Regions from separate parts of the Homo sapiens genome. Here region 1 is linked to region 2. The links are contacts of gene promoters, found by promoter capture Hi-C in blood cells and fetal thymus (Javierre and others, 2016). All regions are on one chromosome and are shown on one strand. The core of a region is centred on a gene start or on the middle of the fragment in contact, and the rest is flanking DNA. Distances in the headings are between cores, read along the strand shown. Region 1 has its middle 49 kb from the start of MAGEB17-AS1. Region 2 holds the start of ZRSR2 (zinc finger CCCH-type, RNA binding motif and serine/arginine rich 2).

Region 1 (4,794 bases), core at 1,408-3,907, 430 kb after region 2:
AAGTGGTCTAACCATTGGGCAGTAATGAATTGCATTTCACTAGACACAGCTAATTTGCATTTCTATGTAATGTAATAAGTATTTACATTGCCATCAGTTTTCCACCAGTTAACATCTATCTCTTCAGAGTCATATAATAGCCTAGACAAAGGCAAAGGCGCACACCCTTGTGGCAAGAGATAATCCCCAGAGGTTCCAGCATTTCATTAAAAAAATACTCAGTAGTTTCTTTTGTCCTATAGGAACCAAGAAAGGAAACATCCTCTTTGCCCTCTAAAGGTTCAACTGAATAGCAACTGACAAAAGGCAGATTAACAGGAGAAAAGGCATGCAAATTTATTAACCTGTATGGGAGAGAATCACAGAGTGATTACTCCACCCCCCAATGGGATATAGAACCTTATATACCCTTTTTCTGTAGAGGAGGGAGGAGATGGGAAATGTAGACAATTATTTTGAGGGACAATAAGAGATTATTAGGAAGAATGAATGAACCAGAGATAAATTAACTTATATGTGAATCTCTTTGGAATTTTAATGAACCCAAGAGGCAGGTATTATCTCATGGAAAAGTTCATCCAGGTGTGGCTGCATTCTTCCGTCTTCTTTTCTGCAATAGATAAGGTAACTGGGAGGGGATAGAAGACAGTTGTGTTTCTTTTGATAATAAATTTTCTTGGTCAGATAAGGAACTTCCAGAGAGAGTTCTTCCCTACACTGGGTGGGAGAGGAACAAGGTTAGAGGGACCTTGATTCTGAGGCTTATTTCTGAGGCCTTTCAATTTTCAAAAGCATTTAGCATGCCCGAGTGCCATGTCTTAGTCCATTTGTGTTGCTATAAAGGAAAACCTGAGGCTGAGTAATTTATAAAGACAAGAAGTTTATTTGGCTCATGGTTCTCCTGGCTGAAAGATTGGGCATCTGGTGAAAGCCTCAGACTGCTTTCACTCAAGGCAGAAGGCAAACGGGAGCCAGTGTGTGCAGAGATCACATAGTGAGTGAGGAAGCAAAAAGACACGGGGAGGGAGGGGTGCCTCACTCTTTTTAACAAGTTCTTGCAGGAACTAATAGAGTGAAAACTCACTCATTACTGTGAGGGTGGCGCCCAGACATTCATGACAGATATGCCACCATGACCCAGTAATCTCTCATTAGGTTCAACTTCCAACATTGGGAATCAAATTTTAACATGAGATTTTTGTAGGGTCTGTGAAATAAAATATTTCAAACTTAAAATAATTCATACTTAAAGCTGTTAGTGTCACACGCATCTGTGTGAAGAGACCACCAAACAGCCTTTGTGTTAGCAACAAGGCTGTTTATTTCACCTGGGTGCAGGCAGGCTGAGTCCGAAAAAGGAGTCAGCAAAGGGTGGTGGGATTATCACTGGTTCTTATAGGTTTGGGATAGGCGTACAAAGTACATTCTCAAGGGCGGGGAGAATATTACAAAGTACCTTCTTAAGGGCAGGGGAGAATATATGTATCAGGGTGGGGCAGGAACAAATCACAATGGTGGAATGTCATCAGTTAAGGCTATTTTCAGTGATTTTGTGGATCTTCCGTTGCTTCAGGCCATCTGGATGTATACATGCAGGTCACAGGGGATATGATGGCTGAGCTTGGGCTCAGAGGCCTGACATTCCTGTCTTCTTATATTAATAAGAAAAACAAAACAATACAGTGGTGAAGTGCTGGGACAGCGAACATTTTTTGGGGTGGTATGGAGAGATAACGGACGATGTTTCTCAGGGCTGCTTCGAGCGAGATTAGGGTCAGCGTGGGAACCTAGAGTGGGAGAGATTAAACTGAAGAAAGATTTTGGGGTAAGGGGTGATATTGTGGGGTTGTTAGAAGGAGCATTTGTCGTATAGAATGATTGGTGATGGCCTGGATGTGGTTTTTATATGAATTGAGAAACTAAACAGAAGACACAAGGTCCAAATAAAAGAAGGAGAAAAATAGGTATTAAAGGACTAAGAATTGGGAGTACCCAGGACATCCAATTAGAGAGTGTCCAAGGGGGTTCAACGTAATTATTTGCTTGGTTGGAGAGTTTTTGGGCTCTATCCTTGAGTTTTTTTTAATGTTGACATATACCAGGCCAGATTGATTTAGGTAAAAACAACACTCTTCATTTAAAAATATACAGAGTCCTCCTTTTTCAGCAGTGAGTAAATCGAGGCCTCGGTGATTTTGGAGGAAAGAGAAATGCAAAGCCAGCAATTGTTTGTTAAAGAAGGATTAGAAATGGCTAGGAGAGAGTGAGTGAGATTGATAGTGTGGTGGAGATAGCTGGGGAAAGGTAGAGGGTGGCATAAGAACGGGAACGAGAATAAGAGTGAGTATAAAAGTAAAGAATAGGACTTCATCAGGGTGAAAGTGTTGGAGTGTGTCCTGTCAGCAAAGATCATCTATCCACTCCAAGAGGGAGTCAAGAGTGGCGGATTGGGGATAGATTTTCACAATGGAAAGGAAATGAGAAGTTTTAAGAGGCAGGCTAATGGCTTGTAACCTACATGGAAGAGGTTATGAATACAACAGGCCTGTGAGGCTGGAAGGAGATACAAATTTTTTTGGTTTAAGAACCATCTGCCTTGAGTGGAGAGGGAGTGATAGGTGGAAACTTCAGTGGGAGAGTAAATAGGAGTGACCAATGAGAAGGAGAAAAACTGGCCATGAGGGACAGAAGTTGGAAAGCTAGCTGCTTCTTTAGCGACCTTATCAGCATAAGTGTTGCCCTGAGCAATGGGATCTGATGGCTTTTCATGGCCCTTGCAGTGAATGACTCCAGCTTCCTTTGGAAGTAAAGCAGCTTTAAGCAGAGTTTTTATTAAGGAGGCATTAATGATGGGGGACTCTTATGTAGTGAGGAAATTTCTTTCTGCCCATATAACAGCATGGTGGTACTGGATATGGAAGGCATATTTAGAATCAGTATAAATATTGACAAGTAGTCCCTTTGCAAGAGTGAGGGCCTGAGTTAAGGCAATGAGTTTGGCTTGCTGAGAGGTAGTGGAGGGGGGCAGGGCAGTAGCCTCAATGATAAATGTGGAAGATACTATAGCATAGCCTGCCTTTGCTGGTGAGTGGCAATTAGGCCTGGTGGAACTGCCATCAATAAACCAAGTGTGATCAGGGTGAGGAACAGGAAAGAAGGAAATATGGGGAAATGGAATGAATGTCAGGTGGATCAGAGAGATACAGTCATGGGGGTCAGGTGTGGTATCAGGAATAATGTGGGAGGCCGGATTGAAGTCTGGGCCAGCAACAATGGTGATTGTGGAAGACTCAACAAAGAGTGAGTATAGCTGAAGGGTCTTGGGGGCAGAAAGTATATGCGTTAAGTGTGAGGAAGAAAATAGATTTTGAAAGTTATGGGAACTGTAGAGAGTAAGTGGAGCATAGCTTGTGATTTTGAGGGCCTCTAAAAGTATTAAAGCAGTGGCAGCCACTGCATGCAAACATGAGGGCTAGGCTAAAACAGTAAGGTCAAGTTGTTGGGACAGAAAGGCTACAGGGTGCAGTCCTGGCTCTTGTGTAAGAATTCTGACCACACAGCCCTACACTTTGGCTGTGTGTAATGAAAAGGGTTGGGATGAGTTAGGGAGTGCTAGTGTGGGAGCAGCTTTTAGGGCTGTTTTTTAAGGAATGGAAAGGGGAGTGGGGAAAGGATTTAGGATTTATGGGGTCAACTAGGTTTATCTAGAACAGAATAACGGGTTGTGGAGGAGATGTTGAGGATAGGAGAGTATATGGGTTTGGCACCACGGGGTGGATAGGCAAGACAATTTGGTTGATAAGGCACAGACCCTGAACTAACCTGTAAGACTTGTCCAGTTTTTGGACAGGTAAAATGGGGGAATTGTAAGGGGGAGTTTATAGGCTTTAAAAGGCCAGGCTGTAGCAGGCAAATGATAACAGGCTTTAATCCTTTTAAAGTGTGCTGTGGGATGGGATATTGGCATTTAGCGGGGTAAGGGTGATTAGGTTTTAATGGGATGGTAAGGGGTGCATGATCGGTTGCCAAGGAGGGAGTAGAGGTGTCCCATACTTGTGGATTAAGGTGGGGAGATACAAGGGGAGGATGTGAAGGAGATTTGAACTGGGGAAAAAGGCGGCAATGAGGTGTGGCTGTAGCCTAGGAATAGTCAGGGAAGCAGATAATTTAGTTAAAATGTCTTGACCTAATAAGGGAGCTGGGCAGGTGAGGATAACTGAAAAAGAGTGCATAAAAGAATGTTGTCCAAGTTGGCATCAGAGTTGGGGAGTTTTAAGAGGTTTAGAAGACTGGCCGTCAATACCCACAACAGTTATGGAGGCAAAGGAAACAGGCCCTTGAAAAGAAGGTAATGTAGAGTGGGTAGCCTCCATATTGATTAAGAAGGGGACGGACTTACCCTCCACTGTAAGAGTTACCCAAAGTGTCTGTGACGGTCCAGGAGGCTTCTGAGGCGATCGGGCAGTGTCAGTCTTCAGCCACTCAGCCAAGAAGATCTGGGAAGGAGTCAGAGAGCCTTGGGCCAGAGTTCCAGCGGCTCTGGGAGTGGCTGCCAGGTGAGCTGGACAGTCCGATTTCCAGTGGGGTCCCACACAGATGGGACGCAGCTTAGGAGGAATCCTGGGCTGCAGGCATTCCTCAGCCCAGTGGCCAGATTTCCAGCACTTAAAGCAAGCTCCTGGGGGAGGCGATCCTGGAGGAATGCCTGGCCACTGCGGTTCAGATGTTTTGAAGTTCTTGTGTGCTGGAGATGTGGCTGGGGTTTCTCTCACAGCAGAGGCAAGTAATTGCAAC
Region 2 (4,504 bases), core at 634-3,133:
AGCTGAGTAATTCTAAGGAGGGATTAGGGGAAGGAAGGCAGTTTAGTAATTGAGTATCTCAGAAACTTTAATTTGGAGGAGAACGGAACAAAGGTAGGCCAAGGAAGCTATTCAATCACTCAAAAGATAGAGGTTATTAGTCATTTTACAGCTGTAATGCATCCTTGTGAGGAACATTTTTTGCTTGGCCTTGTCCCTGGCCTTGTATGTGTACATTACAGTCTGATTATTAGTTGGGATGATTTTTAGTTTCTCAATCCCTACTCTCATTGCCCCAGTTTAATTCCTCAACACCTCTCACCTAGATTATTGTGATACTCTAGTTTTATCTTTTAAATCCTTTATATTGCAAAGCAGAGTGATTTACCTAAAACACAAACACAACCACAATAAGCCTCTATTTAAAAAGCTTTCAACGGTTCACTGTTGTCTCTACAGAATGTAAACAGAGCGTCTTAACATGGCACACCAGGCCCTCCTTAACCTAGCCCTCCCAGCCCATCACAACAACTATATTCCTTGATATTCTCGAATTGCACTTTATTTTGTTTTGTTTTTTTGAGACGGAGCCTTGCTCTGTTGCCCAGGCTGGAGGGCAGTGGTGCCATCTCGGCTCACTGCGGCCGCCACCTCCTGGGTTCAAGCAGTTCTCCTGTTTCAGCCTCCAGAGTAGCTGGGACTACAGGCATGTGCCACCACACCCGGCTAATTTTGTATTTTTAGTAGAGACGGGGTTTCACCATGTTGGCCAGGCTGACGAACTCCTGACCTCAGGTGATCCACCCGCCTAGGCCTCCCAAAGTGCTGGGATTACAGGCGTGAGCCGCTGCACCCAGCCTCGAACTGCACTTTAAATTGGATAGCTGGGCGGGCGTGGTGGCTCGCGCCTGTATTCCCAGCTACTCGGGAGGCTGAGGTGGAAGGATTGCTTGACCCCAGGAGGTCGAAGCTGCAGCGAGTCGTGATTGCGCCACTGCACTCCAACCTGGGTGAAAGACAAGACCCTGTCTCTAATATATAAGAAATGAATAAATAAATAAATTCGATTGCCAAAATTCTTGCTGTTCCCAGCATATTCCACTTTCACCTTTCAGCGCCTTTGCTTATGCTGATCTGACTGTAACTGCATTCCCACCCTTCTCCTTCTGGGTAAAGGGCATCTTCTTTCCAAACTCAACTCTTAGCATCAGAAAGCTGTCCCTGATACTGCAGTTGAGTCGCATGTGATACTGAAAAAAAAAGAAAAAAGGAAAAAAAAGAGAGCTCTCCCTGAATCCCTTGGTGGACTATGTTAGGTAAACTTCATCTTTGCCTGCATCATATTATGTATTGGTTCTTCTCTGCCCCCTCGATTGTAAACTCCTCAGGGGCAGAGGTAACAGCTTTGCAGCCCTGGGAGTTAGGTTTGCTTAAGGGACCAGAACAGGTGTGACTGGCAGGGAGCGAAGTCTGGAGCTTTGTCTGAGGCGCTGATAGGTGGATCGGCGGAAGGACGCGGAACCTGGACAGGTCGGAAATAAAGCCGGGCGAGCAGCTCTGTGCGCGATGTGACTTCATGAGTGGATGCTGAGAAAAGCGGCAGAGTACGACTTTAACCGCCTAGCCACAACACGTCCTGCTAGGGCGAGGAGGGAGACAGTGATACAGCACTGGGCAAGTGCTGAAGCGACAATTACTTCTAGGGCGGGGTAAAAGCCCCAGAGTATTTTTGCTGGAAGGAGGTATTTATTTGAGCAGGGTTCTGGAAGACGAGCCGCCGAAGGGTACCTCCGGCTTTCCGTTTCAAGTCCCACGCTGGTGGAGGTTGCTCGGTACCCGCGCCTGCGCGTGCCCGTCTCGACTCTTAGGCCCGCCCTTTCCTGCCAGACCTGGAGGGGCGGGGCGGTGCCGGCAAGATGGCTGCGCCCGAGAAGATGACGTTTCCCGAGAAACCAAGGTAAGCGCCGTACGGGGAGATGAGCAGGCGAGCGGGCCGATCGTGGGCATGGAGGATGTGGTGGCAGGAAGAAAAGAGAAGCTGGGCCAAGCTAAGTGAGCCACCGCGGCAGCTCCATTCCTTCCTGGTGCGCGCTCTGGTGCCCTCCCCGGACTTGCACGGGCGGCTGTGGCTCAGGCAAGCGAGGAGAGGATCAGGTTGGCGGATGGAGAAGAACTGTCTGGGAGTGGGAGGATGAGGCGATGATAGATGGCTGTTCTGTAATTAAAATACAGGAAGCAAGGTTTCTCTCCTCAGCACCCGAACTATTTCCTTTCATTGGGCACAGAGGAGCGGGGAGCTCGGGCAGCGCTGCATTGTAGCCGCTGATCGTCGTGTATATGTCTTAATCTTCCAGCCACAAAAAGTACAGGGCCGCCCTGAAGAAGGAGAAACGAAAGAAACGTCGGCAGGAACTTGCTCGACTGAGAGACTCAGGTGATGGACTCTTTATTCTGTTTTCTGTGTTGTGAAATTGCTCTGTCCACTCCAGCCCTAACTTGAAGCCCCAGTGTCAGAAGGAAGTCAAATATTGTGTCGGAGGAAAAATAGCTGTGACTTCTGCCCCCAAGTAGTTATTTAGAAACACATGTCAGAAACAATGTTAACATACTAAAGGCAGGAAGAGGAAGTCTTGGTGAATGATCGCCCACTGATTCTGTGTAACTTATAAAGTATCTAATATTACAGTTGCAAGCTTCATGAATTACAGCAGCTAGCACAGTCCTTGCACACGTAGTAAGTATTCGGTGAATGTTTTTCTTCGTAAAACCAGCAGGAGTTGAAGGTATTAATTAGACGTTTTGCAAGTTTTTCTCAAACTTGACTAATATGAGACCCTTGGTTTACCCAAATTATTATGTTATTCAAATATATATCAACATAATACTAGTTATGAAGCTCATTTATTTATTTTTGAGACAGGGTCTTGTTCTGTTGCCCAGGAGGGATGTGCACAACCACGGCTCACAGCAGCCTCCACCTCCCAGGCTCAAGCAGTCCTCCCACCTCAGCCTCCCTAGTAGCTGGGACTACAGGCATTCACCACCACACCTGGCTAATTTTTTCTTTTCTTTTCTTTTTTTTTTTTTTTTTTTTTGAGACGGAGTCTCGCTCTGTTGCCCAGGCTGGAGTGCAGTGGCACGATCTTGGCTCACTGCAGCCTCCGCCCCCTGGGTTCAAGCAGTTCTCCTGCTGCAGCCTCCCGAGTAGCTGGGATTACAGGCGTGCGCAACCACACCCGGCTAATTTTTGTATTTTTAGTAGAGATGGGGTGAAACCCCATCATGTTGGCCAGGCTGGTTTCGAACTTCTGACCTCAGGTGATCCACCCACCTCAGCCTCCCAAAGTGCTGGGATTAAAGGCGTGAGCTACCGCCCCTGGCCCACCTGGCTAATTTTTAAAATTTTCGTAGAGACGGGATTTCACTGTGTTGCCTGGGCTGGTCTCGAACTCCTGGCCTCAAGCAATCCTTCCACCTCGGCCTCCCAAAGTGCTGGGATTATAGGCATGAGCCACCACACCTGACCTGAAGCCATTGTTTGACTATAAAACAATATATGGGCTGGGCGCGTGGTGGCTCATGCCTGAAATCCCAGCACTTTGGAAAGCCGAGGCAGATGGATCACCTGAGGTCAGGGGTTCGAGACCTGCCTGGCCAACATGATGAAACCCTGCCTCTACTAAAAATACAAGATTAGCTGGGCTTGGTGGCAGGTGCCTGTAATCCCAGCTACTCAGGAGGCTGAGGCAAGAGGATCAGTTGAACCTGGGAGGCAGAGGTTGCAGTGAGCCGAGATCCTGCCACTGCACTTCAGTTTGGGCAACAGAGTGAGATTCTGTCTCAAAAAACAAACAAACAAATAAAAATACATTTATAAATTATAAAACTAAATGAAATTACACATTCGGTAAAATTTAAATCTACATCAGGTAATGCTAGGGATGATGTGAAACTAATGCTCCTCACAATATGTATATGGCACTGATGGGAGTTTGGAATGCCTCTACTAATGTTGCCTTATAGTTATTTACCACTTTTTCTATGAAATTACTGTAGAACCTTTATTTGTACAGATGGTCATTTGACCTTCACATGGCAAAACCTAACATTTATGTATTAAATCTACCTGCTTAATGCAATAAAATTAGGACTTAGTTATAAAATTATGTAGTAGTTATAAATCCAGATGGGAGCACTGAAATCACACAGTAGTACTGGCTTATAATGATTGTCATCCGCATTATCCAGAATATGCTCATGAAATTATCCTAGACAATTCTTAAAATCCAGAGACCATGGCCTCAAGTAACTAGGATTCTTGGACCTTGAGAAACATAGCCATAGAGGTTTTATTTACCATTGGTGTTCCTGAGTAATTATTTTAGTGTCAGTACTGGGATATTTAGAATGGAAGGAGCAGTGTGTTTAACTGCAACCTGTGTTAGCATTTCTGTCTTATTAGTTGAAAACTCATCCACTAGAGGCAGAACAAAGCATCAGGGATAAAAGGAAAAGTAGAATAGGT

What was found. The method cuts DNA at HindIII sites, captures the fragments that hold promoters and counts their contacts. A CHiCAGO score of 5 or more calls a contact.
Region 1: a fragment that was not itself captured here is called in contact with the fragment with the promoter of ZRSR2 in region 2 in 1 of 17 cell types (M1 macrophages); the score reaches 5.7 in M1 macrophages.

Annotation. Positions count from the first base shown.
Region 1 is chrX:16,215,614-16,220,407 of GRCh38, forward strand. No RefSeq gene overlaps it. Among named protein-coding and RNA genes, the nearest start is that of MAGEB17-AS1, 49 kb to the left of the region's middle. RefSeq lists an enhancer at 1-718. The HindIII fragment of the contact is 8,679 bases long and covers 1-4,794 here.
Region 2 is chrX:15,788,601-15,793,104 of GRCh38, forward strand. It overlaps ZRSR2 (zinc finger CCCH-type, RNA binding motif and serine/arginine rich 2), which reads left to right and starts at 1,884. Exons shown (of 11, transcript NM_005089.4): 1 at 1,884-1,936; 2 at 2,334-2,413. The coding sequence starts at 1,896. RefSeq lists enhancers at 1,762-2,211, 2,870-3,371. The HindIII fragment of the contact is 2,263 bases long and covers 408-2,670 here.